Regions from separate parts of the Homo sapiens genome. Here all the other regions are linked to region 4. The links are contacts of gene promoters, found by promoter capture Hi-C in blood cells and fetal thymus (Javierre and others, 2016). All regions are on one chromosome and are shown on one strand. The core of a region is centred on a gene start or on the middle of the fragment in contact, and the rest is flanking DNA. Distances in the headings are between cores, read along the strand shown. Region 1 holds the start of TRAF2 (TNF receptor associated factor 2). Region 2 holds the start of LCN6 (lipocalin 6). Region 3 overlaps LOC107987143 (a long non-coding RNA gene). Region 4 holds the start of ANAPC2 (anaphase promoting complex subunit 2). Region 5 overlaps RABL6 (RAB, member RAS oncogene family like 6).

Evidence for each region. Contacts are between HindIII fragments. The CHiCAGO score rates a contact against its expected background, and 5 or more counts as called.
Region 1: a fragment that was not itself captured here is called in contact with the fragment with the promoter of ANAPC2 in region 4 in 2 of 17 cell types (naive CD8 T cells and erythroblasts); the score reaches 5.5 in naive CD8 T cells.
Region 2: the fragment with the promoter of LCN6 here is called in contact with the fragment with the promoter of ANAPC2 in region 4 in 4 of 17 cell types (naive B cells, total B cells, M1 macrophages and 1 more); the score reaches 7.2 in naive B cells.
Region 3: a contact is called between a fragment that was not itself captured here and the fragment with the promoter of ANAPC2 in region 4, in 5 of 17 cell types (endothelial precursors, naive B cells, activated CD4 T cells and 2 more). The highest score is 7.2, in endothelial precursors.
Region 5: a fragment that was not itself captured here is called in contact with the fragment with the promoter of ANAPC2 in region 4 in 9 of 17 cell types (naive CD8 T cells, fetal thymus, naive CD4 T cells and 6 more); the score reaches 8.7 in naive CD8 T cells.

The regions. Positions count from the first base shown.
Region 1 is chr9:136,883,257-136,886,822 of GRCh38, forward strand. It overlaps TRAF2 (TNF receptor associated factor 2), which reads left to right and starts at 3,260. Exons shown (of 11, transcript NM_021138.4): 1 at 3,260-3,285. MIR4479 (microRNA 4479) reads left to right here and starts at 3,477; the gene lies at 3,477-3,547. LOC105376326 (a long non-coding RNA gene) reads right to left here and starts at 2,998. Exons shown (of 3, transcript XR_930448.2): 1 at 2,842-2,998; 2 at 2,037-2,094; 3 at 1,524-1,878. RefSeq lists silencers at 2,685-2,814, 3,035-3,566 and an enhancer at 3,221-3,566. The HindIII fragment of the contact is 4,476 bases long and covers 79-3,566 here.
Region 2 is chr9:136,746,709-136,749,986 of GRCh38, forward strand. LCN6 (lipocalin 6) reads right to left here and starts at 1,817. Exons shown (of 7, transcript NM_198946.3): 1 at 1,686-1,817; 2 at 716-855. The coding sequence starts at 1,775. LOC100128593 (a long non-coding RNA gene) reads left to right here. Exons shown (of 3, transcript NR_033913.1): 2 at 370-1,864; 3 at 2,038-3,203. It overlaps MIR6722 (microRNA 6722), which reads right to left and starts at 262; the gene lies at 185-262. The HindIII fragment of the contact is 9,973 bases long and covers 1-3,278 here.
Region 3 is chr9:136,766,127-136,769,755 of GRCh38, forward strand. It overlaps LOC107987143 (a long non-coding RNA gene), which reads right to left. Exons shown (of 3, transcript XR_001746981.2): 2 at 1,635-2,023; 3 at 217-1,548. Among named protein-coding and RNA genes, the nearest start is that of LCN15, 3.4 kb to the left of the region's middle. RefSeq lists enhancers at 38-87, 98-147. The HindIII fragment of the contact is 474 bases long and covers 1,703-2,176 here.
Region 4 is chr9:137,186,981-137,190,590 of GRCh38, forward strand. ANAPC2 (anaphase promoting complex subunit 2) reads right to left here and starts at 1,580. Exons shown (of 13, transcript NM_013366.4): 1 at 1,436-1,580; 2 at 501-1,123. The coding sequence starts at 1,552. It overlaps SSNA1 (SS nuclear autoantigen 1), which reads left to right and starts at 1,696. Exons shown (of 3, transcript NM_003731.3): 1 at 1,696-1,798; 2 at 2,086-2,285; 3 at 2,827-3,386. The coding sequence starts at 1,747. The coding sequence ends at 2,934. RefSeq lists an enhancer at 1,488-1,707 and a silencer at 1,738-2,087. The HindIII fragment of the contact is 11,278 bases long and covers 126-3,610 here.
Region 5 is chr9:136,809,156-136,812,554 of GRCh38, forward strand. All of the region lies in intron 1 of RABL6 (RAB, member RAS oncogene family like 6), which reads left to right. It also overlaps the pseudogene LOC100422233. Among named protein-coding and RNA genes, the nearest start is that of CCDC183-AS1, 2.0 kb to the left of the region's middle. The HindIII fragment of the contact is 3,825 bases long and covers 1-3,399 here.

The sequences.
Region 1 (3,566 bases), core at 1,067-3,566, 300 kb before region 4:
GCAAGTACTCTGAGACTGGGCGGCACGGGGCAGTCATCCTGGTCACTACCTGCTCTCGAGGGCTGTGGGCATTTGCCAAGCTTGGGAAACCTTTTCTGGACTTGGGGTGGGGCTGAGGTGGTCTCAGACTCAGCCCTTCAACACTGTCATCATCCAGGACCAGTGAGGTGTGTCACCCCATGTTGGAGGCCACTGTCTGAAAGCTGTTAGAATGACTTTCCCGTTACCCTGAAGGAAGTAGAGTGTCCTAAAACAGGTGAACCCCTTCTTTTTTCTTTGAGATGGAGTCTTGCTCTGTCACCCAGGGTGGAATGCAGTGGCGTAATCTCGGCTCACTGCAACCTCTGCCTCCCAGGTTCAAGTGATTTTCCTGCCTCAGCCTCCTGAGTAATTGGGATTACAGGCATCTGCCACCATGCCCAGCTGATTTTTGTATTTTTAGTAGAGACAGGGTTTCACCACGTTGGCCAGGCTGGTCTTGAACCCCTGACCTCAGGTGATCCACCCACCTCAGCCTCCCAAAGTGCTGGGATTACAAACATGAGCCACTGTGCCGGGCCTTTTGTGTATTTTTTTTTTTTTTTGAGATGGATTCTTGCTCTGTCGCCAGGCTGGAGTGTAGTGGCGCAATCTCGGCTCACTGCAACCTACGCCTCCCGGGTTCAAGTGAATCTCCTGCCTACTCAGTCTCCTGAGTAGCTGTGAGTACAGGCGCGTACCACCATGCCCAGCTAATTTTTGTACTTTTAGTAGAGACAGGGTTTCAACATGTTGGCCAGAATGGTCTCGATCTCTTGACCTCATGATCTGCCCACCTCGGCCTCCCAAAGTGCTGGGGTGAGCCACCGCGCCCGGCCTTTTGTATTTTTTTAGTAGAGACGAGGTTTCACCATGTTGGCCAGTCTGGTCTCAAACTCCTGACCTCAGGTGATCTGCTCGCCTAGGCCTCCCAAAGTGCTGGGATTACAGGCATGAGCCGCCGTGCCTGGCTGTTTTTTCTTTTTTAAAAGAGACAGGGTCAGCCAGGCGCAGTGGCTCATGCCTGTAATCCTAGCACTTTGGGAGGCCGAGGCAGGCAATTGCCTGAGCTCAGGAGTTCGAGACCAGCCTGAGCAACACGGTGAAACCCCGTCTCTACTAAAATACAAAAAAAATTAGCCGGGCGTAGCGGTGTGCGCCGGTAGTCCCAGCTACTCCGGAGGCTTAGGCAGGAGAATTTCTTGAACCCGGGAGGCAGAGGTTGCAGTGAGCCGAGATCGCACCACTGCACTCCAGCCTGGGTGACAGAGCAAGACACCGTCTCAAAAAAGAAAAAAAAGAGACAGGGTCTCACTCTATAGCGCAGCCTGGAGTGCAGTGGTGCAACCACAGCTCACTGCAACCTCCACCTCCTGAGCTTCAGTCATCTTCCTGCCTCAGCCTTCCAAGCAGTTGGGACTACAGGTGTGCAGCACCACACCCAGCTAAATTTTTTTTCCTTTTTTTGGTAGAGATGGGGTTCCCCCATGCTGCCCATGCTGGTTTCGAACTCATGGGCTCAAGCGGTCCTCCTGCCTCAGCCTCCCAAAGTGCTGGGATTATAGGCATGAACTGCCACGTGAACCCTTTCTCATCCCGAGCTGGCTGCTGCAGACTCAGGACAGCTTTGAGCCTCCCAGGTGCAGCCAGGAGGAGACGCCTTCTTACGTTTGAGAGCTCAGTTAGTTCCTGGGCTTGAGCAACCTCACTGAGCCTGCAGGTGCGGACTTGGGACGTTTCCATGGCTGCTTGCAGCAAACTCAGGGGTGATGACGTTGATGGAATCCGATGGCTTCCTGAGTTCCATCTCAAGGCCTTGCTGTCCCAGGAATGTGGGTTTGGGGCGGAGGGGAATTCCAACTGCAAACCAAGTAACATATATGAAATGTGGCATTGGCGCCTGGGGACAGCGTGGCCTGTGTAAATTATGCAACTTCAAAGCCTGCCCTGTTTTGCAGTGTATTCCATCCTTGAGGAGTCCCGTGGTCTCAGGGTCTGAATGCTTGGAGGAGACTTACCTCCGTGAACGTTTCCTTCTCTGCAAAGCGGGGTGAAAGGTCTCCATTTCACCAAAGGCTGGATGGAGAGGGGGTGGTGTGTCCAGTGCTAGCCCGTGCACCGCCAGAGAGAACCTGCTGCAGCTCCCGTTCTCCTGGGCAGATGACAGTGCCGCCTCCCCCATGCAGCCCACAGGACTCCTAGGGCAGCCCCTGTTTTGGCCGCCAAGGCCACTGTTTTCATTTGAGTGTCTGGAGGCCATAGGTTGTGTTTTCACTTGAGGTCGGGAGTTCAAGACCAGCCTGGCCAACATGGTGAAACCTCGTCTCTATCAAAAATACAAACATTAGCCGGGCGTGATGGCGGGCGCCTGTAGTCCCAGCTACTCGGGAGGCTGAGGCAGGAGAATCGCTTGAACCCGGGAGGCGGAGGTTGCAGTGAGTCGAGATCGCGCCACTGAACTCCAGCCTGGGCGACAGAGTGAGCCTCCGTCTCAAAAAAAAAAATAAATAAAGTGCACAACCCAGTAGATTAGCACACCGGCCATGTCGGGCGGCCGTCACCACTGTCCGGTTGCAGAGCATTACCTCACCCCAAAAGGAGACCCCATAGCCTTAATACCTTACTTAAGTGTGCAGTATTCTTTTAGTCCTGTTTCTCATAAATGTTACCCAAATTGAGGCGCCGCTCTGCGCCCGGCACCGGGGGAGGCGGAGGGACCCGCAGGTGTCGGGTAGGTGCGGCCGCCCCGCCAGGGCCCCGCGTCCCGCGCGCGACGCGCGCCTCGTGGGAACCGGTGTCGCCCGGCTTGGGCTCCCGGCTCACCTCTCGGGTGTGCGGCAGGGGTCTCCGCCCCGGGGCCACGGGAGGGGAAGCAAGGGCCTCGCTGTCTCGCCGCACCTGGGGAAGGGACCCAATTAGCGCGGACCCCACAGCGCAGCACCTCACCAGCTCCCCGCACCAACGCCCCGGCGCGCTCTTTGAGGAAAAAGCAGAGGGCGACTTAGGTACCCACGCCGTCTCAGCGCCGACCAATCGGCGCACGCTGCGGCTCCTGCGGGCTCGCTGGTTGGCTCCGGCGTCAGTCCGTCAGGCGCGCTCGGAGCGGGGCGTATCTGGCCAATGGCTCTCGCTACAGCTTCCTGAGGGCTGGCTGGTTGGCTCCCATGTCCGTCCGTCAGGCGCACGCGGCGGAGCGGCGGCGGCGGCGGCGGCGTTGGGGGCGGTAGCTGGGCGGGCCCTTAGTTCCGGGCGCGCTGCGACCGTTGGGTGAGGCGAGCGCGGGGTCGGGTGCGGGGTCGGGCGCGGGCGCGGGGTCGGGTGCGGGGTCGGGCGCGGGGTCGGGCGCAGGCGCGGGCACCTCTCAGGGAGACTCCGGGCCGGAGCGGGAGCGGGGGCGGGAGAGGCCGCGGGGCGGGGGCGGGGCCAGCCCGAGGGGATTTCTCTGAGCCGCTGGGCCGGAAACCAAGTCCGAGCGTGGCTGGCGCGGGAAAGTTCGGGAACGCGCGCGGCCGTGCTCGGAGCAGCGCCAGGGCACGGTCCGGGGTTTT
Region 2 (3,278 bases), core at 567-3,066, 440 kb before region 4:
TGGGCCCCGTACCTGGCTCAGTGGTTCAGGCCTGGGCTCTGTCGCCAGCCTGCCAGGGGGTAGACACCCACCACGCCACCCAGCAGGCCACTCTTCTGTGAAGGGAGGCGGGCACCGACTCCTGCCCCAGCACGGCTACCCCCACAGCCCGGCTGCCCTGTAGGTGTCCCCTGTGTAGCACGGCCGCCCCACAGCCTGGCCCACCCGACCCCTGCACGCCGCCACCAGCCATGCATGTGGTCGGGTGCGCCTGCCTGAGGCCACAAGGCCAGTCTGGCCAACAGCGTCCATGACCATATTGTTTGGGGATTTATGTTATGAAAGAACCAGTGGTTCTTAGGTCCGAATGCATTATCCTCCTTTAAACAGAATTCCCGAAAAAGGCCTGCTGAGAGGACAGGCTTCCCCAGCTCTGACCACAGCCTGCAGCCCAGATGACCCAGGACAGGGATGCATGAAGGAGCATAGTCAGAGCAGTGCCCGCCGCGGTATTGAAGGTGGGAGTGCCACCTGGAGGCCCCAGGGACACAGATGTGAGTAGCTGGGCAGAGGGCTGGTGGCTCTGCACAGAGCCCAGTGGGAAAAGTGACGGGGGTGCAGAGGGGCCGTGGGAAGCCCCCAGGCCGCGGTGCCCGGGAGCAGATGTGCAAAGTACATGATGTGGCTGAGCCACAGTCCTGCCTGCGGGAAGGCCTGGCAGGACCCGCCCACTCACCCGTGCTGAGAGGACAGCGTCCGCAGGTTGTTTTCTGGAGTGAGGGTCACCACCACCCCCACGACGTTCTTCATGTCCTTCTCCATGGCAAAGCCCTTTTCCCGGGAGGCCACCGCAAGCACGTACCAGGGCCCAAGAAGCTGCATTGAGGCGGCTCCCGTTAGGGCCGCCAGCCCTCCAGCCTCCAGCCTCCAGCCTCCAACCCTCCAGCCTCAGCCTCCAGCCTCCAAACCTCCAGCCTCAGCCTCCACCCTCCAACCATCCAGCCCTCCAGCCTCCAGCCTCCAACCCTCCAGCCTCCAGCCTTCCAGCCCTGCAGCCTCCAGCCTCCACCCTCCAACCATCCAGCCCTCCAGCCTCCAGTCTCCAACCCTCCCGCCCTCCAGCCTCCAACCTTCCAGCCTTGCAGCCTCTAGCCTTCAGTTCTCCAGCCCTCCAGCCTCCAGCTTCCAACCCCCCAGACCTCCAACCCTCCAGCCTCCAGCCTTCCAGCCCTACAGCCTCTAGGCTCCAGCCCTCCAGCCTTCCAACCTCCAGCCTGCAGCCCTGCAGCCTCTAGTCTCCAGCTCTCCAGCCCTCCAGCCTCCAGTTCTGCAGCCCTCCAGCCTCCAGCCCTCCAGCCTCCAGTTCTACAGCCCTCCAGCCTCCAGCCCAGCAGCCTCCAGCCTCCAGTTCTCCAGCCCTACAGCCTCCAGCCCTCCAGCCTCCAGTTCTCCAACCCTACACCCTCCAGCCCTGCAACCTCCAGTCTCCAGCCTCCAATTCTCCAGCCCTCCAGCCTCCAACCCTCCAGCATCCACCCCTCCTGCCCTGAGGCTCCTGCCTGTGGGACTCCCCAAGGGCTGGCCCAACTAATTCCCCACTGCTCATGCTGGTCTGGGCTAGCCCTGGGGGGCCCAGAAGCTGTGTGGCCTTAAAGGAGGGGCTGGCCCCCGAGGACCAGCTCTCCCCACCCCCAGGAGGACTGTACCTGCTCAGGGTCCAGTCTTCCCAACCACACGGCCTGGGCCCTGGGCACCGAGACCAAAGCCAGAAAAGCAGCCAGCAGCAGGCCGCCCATCCTCCCAGGTCTACACTGCGCCGCAGGCCCAGGATGTGCAGTCCCTCCAGGCCCTGGAGACCCGTTTATATGGCTCTGAATTTCTCCGTGTGGGTGGCACTAACTGCCAGGAACCCTCCTGGCCTCCTGCAAAATTACCCAGGGGAGCACTGAGCAGTGGCAGCCTCTGAGCCCAGATCAGACCAGCTGCACAGCCAGGAGAGGGTCTGGAGTGTGTGGATCAACCATACTATACTGATCCCCTGCTTTCTTCCACCAGAAGGTTCCAGAATGGGCATCCTAAAGCCAGCCGCACCACCTCCCCCGTTCCTGGGGACCCACGCTCTCCCTCGCCCAGCCTGGGAAGCAGGGAGACTGCTGTCCGCTGCCAGGCCCGGCAGGAGGCCAAGGTCAAGCCCAAGGAGAGGAACCAGGGCGAGAACAAGTGGTTCTCAGGAACTGCGGTTTTGGATATCTTTTGTTTCAATCATTAAATATAAAAAGTCCCTGAAAGCCTTTTGAAAAAGGCTCCCACCTCCTCCTGGCCCACCCACCATTCTGCTTTGTGGCCTGGCCTCTGTCCCCCACAGCCAGCACCCCCAGAACAGACTGTCCTGTTCCTTCCACCTCTGCAGCCCACCATCCGGCCCTGCTGCCTCCTGCCTCCCCTCCCTGGGACCCTGGCCTGCTTGTGCCTCCCAAGGCCCCTTGAGAGCTCTCTGCAGCCCCAGTCCGGGAGCAGAGGACAGAGGTGCTCGGCAGGGTCTATCTGAGCCCCTGAAGCCCACTGGGAGGCAGCCGGGAGGGTCCTCCCCCAGTGCCGTGGCCTGCACCCTCTGGGATTCACTCCCACACACCTTCGCTCATTCATCAACAAGGGTGCAAGGAGCACGTCCATGCAACAAGGCTCCAGTGCCCAGGGCCGCCTGCACTCACAGAGCTTATGCTGCAGCCCTGGCCACCTGCCCTGTACCCACGCAGCAGGGCCTGTGACCACCAGAGTGCAGGAGGAAGGCAGAAACCACACAGCTACTGGGGGCTGGGCCTGCGAAGACTGACCGGGCAGTGGGGCCACGGAGGTGCCAGCCACAGCCATGGCAAGCAGGAGTTGCCCAGGGGCTGAGCCACAGAACAAGGGAGCGGGACACTTAGGCCTGGAGCCTTCAGGAGGGAGCCGTGGCTGCTCGCGGTAATCCCAGCACTTCAGGAGGCTGAGGCGGGAGGATCACTTGAGTCCAGGAGTTTGAGACCAGCCTGGGCGACATAGCAAGACTTCGTCTCTACAAGCAAGTTTAAAAATTAGCTGGACATGGTGGCGTGCTCCTGTAGTCCCAGCTACTCAGGAAGCTGAGGTAGGAGGATTGCTTGAGCCCAGGAGGTTGAGGCTGCAGTGAGCTGTGATCGTGCCACTCCTCTCCAGCCTGGGTGATGGAGCAAGACCCCATCTCTAAAATAAAATAAAAATACAAAAAGGAGGAAGCCGAGCAGCTGGGCCAGGCCTCTGAGAAGGAAACACCTGCCAGC
Region 3 (3,629 bases), core at 690-3,189, 420 kb before region 4:
GTAACGTGAGAGGGGGACAGGGTCAGAGAAAGACCCTTGGCCCCCAGCATCGGGGAAGGGAAGGAGCCGAGGGCTTCTGCTTGTGGCCTCCACTGGTCTTCAGGAGGTTCCAGTTCCCAGCCACGCCCCTGACAGGTTCACCTAAGCCAGCAGTTAGATACAGCAGGAAAACTGTGGTCAGCAAGCCACCCAGATGCCGAAGCAAGAGACCGAGGGCACGAGCTGTTCCAGTTTAATAAAATATATAAAATAACAAGAGTTATACTAGATCTAGATCATAGACATGATTATATATGAATATTATTAATCATTAGCTTGTAGCAATTACTCTTTATTCCAATATTATAATAATCCTTGCTCTACAATTATAACCTAGGAAAAACCAGGCCATACAGAGATAGGAGCTGAGCGGACATAGTGAGAAGTGACCAGAAGACAAGAGTGCGAGCCTTCTGTTACGCCCTGACAGGGCCACCAGAGGGCTCCTTGGTCTAGTGGTGACGCCAGCGTCTGGGAAGACACCTGTTGCCAAGCGGACCGTGATCTAGCAGTAGCGTCAGTGTCAAGGGAAAACACCTGCTACTTAGCAGACAGGGAAAGGGAGTCTCCCTTTCCCCGGGGGAGCTTAGAGAGGACTCTACTCCTCCACCTCCTGTGGAGGGCCTGACATCAGTCAGACCTGCCCGCAGTTATCCAGAGGCCTAACCGTCTCCCTGTGATGCTGTGCTTCAGTGGTCACGCTCGTAGTCCGCCTTCATGTTCCATCCTGTACACCTGGCTCTGCCTTCTAGATAGCAGTAGTCAATTAGTGAAAGTACTAAAAGTCTCTGATATGCAGAAATAATGATGTAAGCTGTCTCTCTCTCTCTCTCTCCGCCTTGGCTGCCAAACAGGGAAGGGCCCCCCATCCGGTGGACACGTGACTCACGTCACCTTACCTATCATTGGAGATGACTCACACTCTTTACCCTGTCCCTTTTGCTTTGTATCCAATAAATATCAGCACAGCCAGACATTCGGGGCCACTACCGGTCTCCACGTCTTGGTGGTAGTGGTCCCCAGGCCCAGCTGTCTTTTCTTTTATGTCTTTTTCTTGTGTCCTTATTTCTATGCCCTCTCATCTCAGCACACAGGGAGAAACTCACCAACCCTGTGGGGCTGGTCCCTACAGAAAACATCTACAAAACGCATACACCTGAGACGAGACTGAAATCCAGCATCCATGAGGAACTCCCAAGACTGAGTAATAAGAAAACAAGCCACTCCATTAAAAATAAAAAGAGGCCAGGTGTGGCATCTCACGCCTGTGATCCTCGCATTTTGGGAGGCCGAGGCGGGTGGATCACCTGAGGTCAGGAGTTCGAGACCAGCCTGGCCAACATGGTGAAACCCTATCTCTTCTCAAAATACAAAAATTAGCCGGGCATGGTGGCGGGCGCCTGTAGTCCCAGCTACTCGGGAGGCTGAGGCAGGAGAATCGCTTGAACCCAAAGTGAGGTGGGTGGGGGGAGGTTGCAGTGAGCCAAGATCGCGCCGTTGCACTCCAACCTAAGTGAAAGAGCAAAATTCCGTCTCAAAATATATATATAAACAAATAAAAATAAAAAGGCAAGAGATCTGAAAAGATACTCCACCAAAGAAAACATCCGGATGGGAGATGAGAACACGCTCAGCATCAGTCCATGGGAAGATGCAACCTGGAAGCTTTTTGAGACCCCTCTGTGCACCTCGCAGACCATGGAAGGCGTTCCACAGAAACAGGCTCAATCCCTAGAGCCTGTGAGGGCTGGGAGTCAGCAGAGCTATCACCCTCTGCGGGAAGAACAAGACGGGACCACACTGCAAAACTTCCTGGCAGACTCTCATGCAGTGAAACATTCCACCAACCTACCTACTTATGGAGGTCTCCACCCGGGAGAAATGAAAACTACGTTTACAGCGAACTTGAGCACTTCTGCATGAGCAGCACGTGATGGACACTCAGCAGTAAAAGGAACGAAGGTGGCTGAATCCCAGGTGCACCCTGCAGAGGGACAGAAGCCAGGTGGAAAAGGCTGCGATCTGCGACTCCTTTTATACGACGTTCTAGGACAGGTGAGCCCACAGGGCAGGGGGCTTCCCAGTGGCTCTGAGGGCTGAGGTGCGGGCAGTGATTGACCGCAAGGGACCTCGAGGAAGCTTTGTGGGCACCAGAGCTGCTGTGTCGCACTTGCAGTGGTTCCATGAACATTTGCATTTGTCTAAACTCACACAACTGTGCCCTCAAAGGGGCGAATGCAGCTGTGCATACATCATACCTCAACTTTTATTTATTTGTGGTTTTTCTTCGTTTTCTTTTCTTTTTTTCTTTTTTCTTTTTTTTCTTTTTTTTTTTTTTTTTTTTTTTTTTTTTTGAGACGGAGTCTCGCTCTGTCGCCCCAGGCGGGACTGCGGACTGCAGTGGCGCAATCTCGGCTCACTGCAAGCTCCACCTCCTGGGTTCACGCCATTCTCCCACCTCAGCCTCCGGAGTAGCTGGGACCACAGGCGTCCACCACCATGCTCGGATAATTCTTTGTATTTTTAGTAGAGACAGGGTTTCACCATGTTAGCCAGGGTGGTCTCGATCTCCTGACCTTGTGATCCACCTGCCTCAGCCTCCCAGAGTGCTGGGATTACAGGCATGAGCCACCGTGCCTGGCCTTGTTTTGTTTTTTAAGACGGGGTCTCACTCTGTCACTCAGGCTGGAGTGCAGTGGTGCAATCTCAGCTCACTGCAATCTCCACCTCCCGGGTTCAAGCGATTCTCCTGCCTCAGCCTCCCATGTAGCTGGGATAACAGTAGCCACCATGCCCGTCTAATTTTTTTTGCATTTTTAGTAGAGACAGGATTTCACCATATTGGTCAGGCTGGTCTCAAACTCCTGACCTCAGGTGATCTGCCCTCCTTGGCCTCCCAAAGTGCCGGGATTACAGGCGTGAGCCACTGCGCCTTGCCTTTTTTTCGTTTTTGACATAGTGAACTGGGGTCCTTTCTCAGAGCTCAGTCCCCTCCCACCCCAACCCCCATGCACGGCCCCCCCCCGCCACCCTGCCACCCCCCCATGCACTGCCCCCCCCGCCACCCCCCCATGCACTGCCCCCCCCGCCACCCCGCCACCCCTCCATGCACTGCCCCCCCGCCACCCCGCCACCCCTCCATGCACTGCCCCCCGCCACCCCCCCATGCACTGCCCCCCCGCCACCCCGCCACCCCTCCATGCACTGCCCCCCGCCACCACCCCATGCACTGCCCCCCCCGCCACCCCGCCACCCCCCCATGCACTTCCCCCCCGCCACCCCGCCACCCCCCATGCACTGCCCCCCCCGACACCCCGACACCCCCCATGCACTGCCCCCCCGCCACCCCGCCACCCCCCATGCACTGCCCCCCCCGACACCCCGACACCCCCCATGCACTGCCCCCCCGCCACCCCGCCACCCCCCATGCACTGCCCCCCCGCCACCCCGCCACCCCTCCATGCACTGCCCCCCGCCACCCCCCCATGCACTGGCCCTCCCGCCACCCCGCTACCCCTCCATGCACTGCTCCCCCCGCCACCCCTTCCCCTTGAGCTCTTGCTGGGCTCCTGGCTCCTGCCCTGAGAGCT
Region 4 (3,610 bases), core at 330-2,829:
GTATGACAATTGCTAGAGAACTACAACAGGACCTGTCTCTCACAACAAACCCCTCTCCTCTCCAAACTAACAAGAGACTGCTTGCCCTCACAGTGACCTGATCTTCCTGGAGAGAAGCAGCAGCAAGCTTCTGTTCACAATTACAGGGCAAGGAATGTCGACGAGGGTGAGAATCATTCCTCCCCAGGATCGACAAAAGGCACAGTGGAATTCTGCAGAGTCCAGGAAGTTTGGAGTTGCTAAGAAATTTGCTGCTGCAGACACAAGCCACATAGGGCCTTACCAGGGTCAAGGCATGAATCTGTGGGACTGAAGGTGAGTGACAGAAGAGAGACACCTGTGTCCAGGACACGCTGCACAGGAATCCCTGGGACTCTCTCTCTGTCATGTTCCTGGTTATCAGGACGGCTCACCAGCTTTCTGCTGAGGCCAGCTGGACCCAGGGGAGCAGCGGGGAACCAGAAGGAGCAAGGGCATGGCCATCGGGACAGACTACTCACAAGACCTGGCTGAGCTGATGGAACTGCTCCAGAGCCTGGCGACACCAGCACTGTTGCTTGTCACTGCTGCACCCTGCACACAGCGGGCTCTGCAGGAGCCGGTAGTACCGGCGACGGGCATACCGGCTGTCCAGCTCCCCTTCCAGTTCCGGGTCTGTGCCCCCTTCCCCCTTCCTCTTACTCTGCATATAGACTCTCAAGAAGCACCCATACAGACGCTGGATCATCTCTTGGAAGGTTCTGGGGGTGCTAAAGAACAAGACTCCGCGCAACATAGTGTGGACTTCTTCTCGCAGCCCCTGAGCACCAGTGCCCATCAGCAAGCCCAGGCGAGTCCATTTCTCCAGCAGCTCTAGGCTACGCAGGTAGGGATCCAGGCGGCTCTCCAGCAGGCCAAAAGCGTCAAGGAGTAGCAAAAGGCACTGGGGCTCATCCGCAGAGTTCTCGCATTGGGAGATGGCATTCCAGAACTCAGGGGAGATGTTGGCCTGCAGATCGTTCTGCAGCACCTCCACGAACCACTCCTCCAGGACCGAGTGTAGCCCGTGGCCCCTCAGAACCTCCACCGCCGCCCGGAGCTCCTCTTCCTTTGGCGGGACTGCACCGCTGGTCCGGGAAGACACCTGGGGTGCAGAAAACCGTGAGGCGAGGGGAACACAACATAGAGGTGGGGAGAGGCGGGGAAGGGAAGAAGCTGAGGGGGAGGCTGCAAAAACTCCGCTGCCCCCTGTCCGTGCTGCCCGGACGTTGGGCCGAAGCTATGGAAGGGCTGTCAGCGGAGCTGAACGAAACGAAACGGAAAGGTGGTGGAAAATGGCAGGACAGGACAGAGGCGGATGATGGACAGAGCCGTATGAACCCGAGGGTAGCGGCCCCAAAGCGCGTACGGTCCCGGAAACTCCGCGCGGGGCCGCCCCTCTCTTCCCAGGCCTCACCAGCCCCAGCGCAGCCGGCGGCACCAGGCCGGTGCTCACGGTGTTCCAGGCCACTAACAACTCCTGTCCGGGCCGGGAGTCGCTGTCCCCCTCCGCCACCACAACTGCCGCCGCCATCTGCACCCACCGACTCCGAGATTCGCTCGGCGCGGCGCGCGGCGATGACGCACGTCTGCACGCGCAGCCATGACGCGCACAAGGCGCTCAGCGATGACGCGCTAGTTCGGCGCGCCGTGGGGGAGTCGTGCGCAGGCGCGGACAGCGCTGCTTCCGCGGCGGTTGGGGTGGTGGGGCCCCGGGCGGCGTTGACCATGACCCAGCAGGGCGCGGCGCTGCAGAACTACAACAACGAGCTGGTCAAGTGTGAGCGGCGCAGCCGGGACGGGGAGGTCGGGAGGGCCGCAGGGCCGGGTTCCCGGCTCGCAGCGGGGTGCCCCTGGACCCGCCTCGCTGCGGGCATCGCGCGGCTGAGCAGAGCCCTCCGTGCCGGAGGCCGGGTGTCCGTGGCCCGAGCCCTCGCTGGCTCGCAGGCCCCGCGCCGGGCGCTCGGGGGTGGTGCCTGACTCTGGCTTCCTCGGGTGGAAGGAGGCCCGCCCTCCGCCGCCGCGCTCCTGCCCTGGGCCCACAGCGCCGCCCCTCCCGGCCCCCAGGCATAGAGGAGCTGTGCCAGAAGCGGGAGGAGCTGTGCCGGCAGATCCAGGAGGAGGAGGACGAGAAGCAGCGGCTGCAGAATGAGGTGAGGCAGCTGACAGAGAAGCTGGCCCGCGTCAACGAGAACCTGGCACGCAAGATTGCCTCTCGCAACGAGTTCGACCGGACCATCGCGGAGACGGAGGCCGCCTACCTCAAGGTGGAGCTCGGGAGGCCAGGCCGAGCATCAGGGGATAGGCACGGCAGGGGTGTTGCCACGGCAAGGCGTCAGGACCGGCTGGGGCTCCCGGCTGTGGGCAGTCTGTGCCTCGCTGGCATTTCGGGCAGGGGCAGCGTGGCCAGGCCCATTGAGGAACCCAGGCTGCTGTGGGAGTGACTGTGGGGCTGTCTGTGGGGCCTGGGGCATCCTGGGTCCTGGTCTTTATCCGGTTCTCGCTAGCCATGTGGTTATTTCTGCTCAGTGTGAAGAGCCAGGTCTTGGGCAGAGCACCCAGCACGGGCCAGTGCTAACCCAGCCTGGCTTTGAGGGTGGAGAGGAAGTGTTTTGGGTCAGATTCCGGAGGGAAGAGGGCCCTGCCACCCCGTCTGCCAGTCCCCTTGGGCTTCCGCCTTCCCCCACACAGGATCCCTTGGCTACAGCACCCCCAGCCAGGTCCCAGCACCTGAGTGTGAGGACAGCTGGGGCTTAGGACCTTACCAACAGGTGAACATTAACAACCTTCTCACTTCTCTGGCCCCAGATCCTGGAGAGCTCCCAGACTTTGCTCAGCGTTCTCAAGAGGGAAGCTGGGAACCTGACCAAGGCTACAGCCCCAGACCAGAAAAGTAGCGGCGGCAGGGACAGCTGACCAGACCACGGGCAGGGCCTGCCTCCGTGTGCCCCTCAGCTCAGCCCCAGCAAGTGTGTGCTCAGAGCATCTTTGTTCTTCACGGCAGCAGCTACCTTCCCTCACTGTCTCAGGTGCCGAGAGGGGCAGGTGCCAGCCTCCACTGGCATCAGTGACAAGCCCAGGGCACAGCCCACCCGGGGGTCCTCGCTTCATGCTCACACAGGCTATGGGGATGGTGGGCTCCAGGTCAGCTCTGCAAGGGGCTTGTCTCTGTGGCACCCACACTCCTGCCCTGCCAGGGAGGCTCTGGTTGTCTGAGCACCATGGGGGCCCCCTCACCTTGTCCCTCCTCAGCCAGCAGAGGCCCAGGGCAAGGGACAGGAGGACAGGGGTTCTCCTTCACCACAGAACCCAAACCTCAGGTCTCACCCCTGTGGCCTGTGATTATGAATAAAGATTATCTTTGTAAAGATCCGTGCCAGCCTGCTGCTTGCCCGTATCAACAGCATGGGGCTGCCAGACACCTGCAGAGCCAGAGCCTGAGGCTCCCCCTTGGGAGAGGAGGGAGGAGGGTCTGGAGTGGCCTCCCTGTGACTGCCCCACTAGCCTCAGGGACACCGCTGAGGGTGCCCACCCTCCCCAGGCCAGCCCCACCCTGAGCCCTCCCCAGCAGGGCCGCCGGTCCTCTTCCCCT
Region 5 (3,399 bases), core at 574-3,073, 380 kb before region 4:
AGTTTTTTGGTCACTTTAAGGGGAGCCTTAGAGCCTCCGTGATATTTCCATGGTAATGTAGAATTTTAAGAACTAATGATCAGAAAGACTCTTGTGCAGGTTTAAAAGCAAGTTCATGAATTCGCGTGCCGTGTGCACGGAGAGAGGCCGTAGTTCCTGGGGCTGGAGCTAGTCCAGGAGGACAGTGAAGATGTCGCCTTCCTTAGTCCCCCGGCCTGTGAGCAAGAGGAAGCTGCAGACCACTCGGGCCACCCTCACCCAGACACCTTTAGCAGTAAGCAAGATAAAACAACTTCTTAAAGATAAGTCTGAGCATCTAGGTATGAAAGTTGGTGTCCGGGCCGGGCACGGTGGCTCATGCCTGTAATCCCAGCACTTTGGGAGGCCAAGGCGGGCAGATCACGAGGTCAGGAATTCGAGACCAGCCTGGCCAACATAGTGAAACACCGTCTCTACTAAAAATACGAAAAAAAAATTTAAAAGAAAGTTGATGTCCGAACCAAGGGCCGTATTGGCTTTTCTTATACTCTAGAACATACGACGACAAAGAAGATTTTGATGAAGTTCAAATTAGAGTCAGCGTGCTCATCAGAAAGAAAGCGCAGCCAACACGTTTAGGAACAGAAACGGATTATGTTGAAGACAAACAATCCATTGCGTTTGTGTTCAGTAACCCAAGCATCAAAGGAACTTGTGGCTGGGGAGAAGGCTTGACTATTTGAAATCTCAGGACTCCTCTGTCCAGGAGCTCCCAGACTCCCGTGGAGTGGAAGCCTGGGGGCTCGCTGAAGAAGTCACGTGACTGGAACGTGCTTAATGCTTGGCTGTCTGGTAAGGAAAATAAAGTGGTGCATTTTGAATAAAAATAAAAGCTGATTTTAAATGTGTTATAATTGAAACTTTATACATAGCTGGCATTCGGAGAAGAGAATATTGAGTCAAAATAACTGAGTTTACGCCAGTTTTTAGACTCTGCGTTTGGATCCTTTATTTAATTTTATTGCTTACAGTATTGGCTAAGCTCAGTATTAGTCCCTGGGAAATCAGGCCTGGACCTGGAAACTGTTCACCTTCTGAAAAGGCTCCCCGAGGGTCCTGGGCAAGGTCCACCTCATGCACCAGGACCACCCCTGTGTGGTCCTGGGCGAGTGTGACTAAAAAGGGCAATGGGGTCCTTCCAGAGGAGAAAAGCCAGTCTCCAGTACTTGGAGAACAGGTTATGATCTCCTAGAACTGAATGAAAGGTGGTGAGACAGAGAGAAATTTGAATTTGTACCTAAATTACATTTTAGAAAGATGTTATCTTTATAGCTGAATAACATGCAATTTTAAAACTTTTGAGTTTCTGTGTTAGAATAGAAAGTTTCTAGTATTTCTTTTCTTTTCTTTTCTTTTTTGAGACAGAGTTTTGCGTTTTGCTGTGTCTCCCAGGCTGGAGTGCAGTGGCGTGATCTCAGCTCACTGCAAGCTCCTCCTCCCGGGTTCACACCATTCTCCTGCTTCAGCCTCCCGAGTAGCTGGGACTATAGGCACCGGCCACCACGCCCGGCTAATTTTTTGTATTTTTAGTAGAGGCAGGATTTCACCGTGTTAGCCAGGATGGTCTCAATCTCCTGACCTCGTGATCTGCCCGCCTCAGCCTCTCAAAGTGCTGGGATTACAGGCGTAAGCCACCATGCCCGGCTTTCTGGTATTTATTTTCTCAAATATTTTACAGAGCGTAACAGACCAGCAATGTGATCAAGACAGAGTCGAGGGTTTTGGGGGTGAGAGTTTCTGGGAACTGCTGCGGGTTTCCAGGAGTCTGGGCTCTCCTCCTGGGCCCTGCATTTGCTCGGAGTTGCTAGTGGTCCCGGTAGACGTGTGGGACACCCACTGGTTTTAGAATAAAAACTCGAATGAGACATTGGACCATAATGGATGAAAAAGTCAAACTCTGTCAAATATTTGAAGAGATTTATTTTTGAGCTGAATATGAGTGACCATGGCTCGTGACATAGCCCTCAGGTGACCCTGAGGACATGTGCCCAAGGTGGAGGGCACAGCTTGGTTTTATACATTTTAGACATGAGACAGTAATCAAATACATTTAAGATATATGTTGATTTGGTCCACAAAGGCGGGACAACTTGAAGTGGGGGCTTCCAGGTCGGAGGTAGTTTAAAAAAATTGTGTTTTTTTGCCGGGCGCGGTGGCTCACGCCTGTAATCTCAGCACATTGAGAGGCCGAGGCAGGCGGACAACCTGAGGCCAGGAGTTCAAGACCAGCCTGGCCAACATGTCGAAACCCCGTCTCTACTAAAACTATAAAAATTAACCGGGTGTGATGGTGGGTGCCTGTAATCCCAGCTACTCAGGAGGCTGAGGCGGGAGAATCGCTTGAGCCCAAGTGGCAGAAGTTACAGTGAGCTGAGATTGTGCCACTGCACTCCAGCCTGGGTGACAGAGTCAGACCCTGTCTCAAAAAAAAAAAAAAAAACAATTGCACCACCACACCCAGCTAATTTTGGTATTTTTTAGAGAGACAGGGTTTCACCACGTTGCCCAGCTGGGCTCAGACCCCTCTACTCAAGCAGTCCGAACCCCTTGGCCTCCCAAAGTGCTGGGATTACAGGCGTGAGCCACCGCGCCTGGCCAGATTATGTTTCTTATCAGACTTAAAGTCAGTGTTGATGTTAAATGCTGGTGAGCTTTTCCTGAATTCCAGAAGGGAGGAGGCCACAATGAGGCCTGTCTGACTCCCCTCTTCCCATAATGGCCTGAACCAGTCTTTCAGATGAAATTTGGATGGCCCTGGCCTAGAAGAGGAAGTCCATTCAGATGGTTGGCAGGCCTTGGGATTTTAATTTTGGTTTACACAATTTTGAAATTATTTGCATATAAAATTATTAGGAAAATTATTTGAAATTATTTGGAAGAAAGATTGTTGCCTGAGTTGGTCTGTCCCTTTCTACTGTGACTGGACACAAAATATCAGTTGTATTTGGTGCAGAATTTTTCTGTGGAGTTGCTCCTGAGTGAGCATTATTGTGCAGCTCTGATACTGGCCTGGCCCAGGAGCTCGGACAACCAGAGTCCTCTCTGAGTAGACACTGGTGCGAATTTAGAAATGGGACTTAGCAGGCCGGGCACGGTGGCTCACACCTGTAATCCCAGCACTTTGGGAGGCTGAGGTGGGCGGATTACATGAGGTCAGGAGTTCAAGACCAACCTGGCCAACATGATGAAACTCATCTCTACTGAAAATATGAAAATTAGCCAGGTGTGGTGGCGTATGCCTGTAATCCCAGCTACTCGGGAGGCTGAGGCAGGAGAATCGCTTGAACCCGGGAGGCAGAGGTTGCCGTGAGCCAAGATCACACCACTGCGCTCCAGCCTGGGCGACAGAGTGAGACTTCG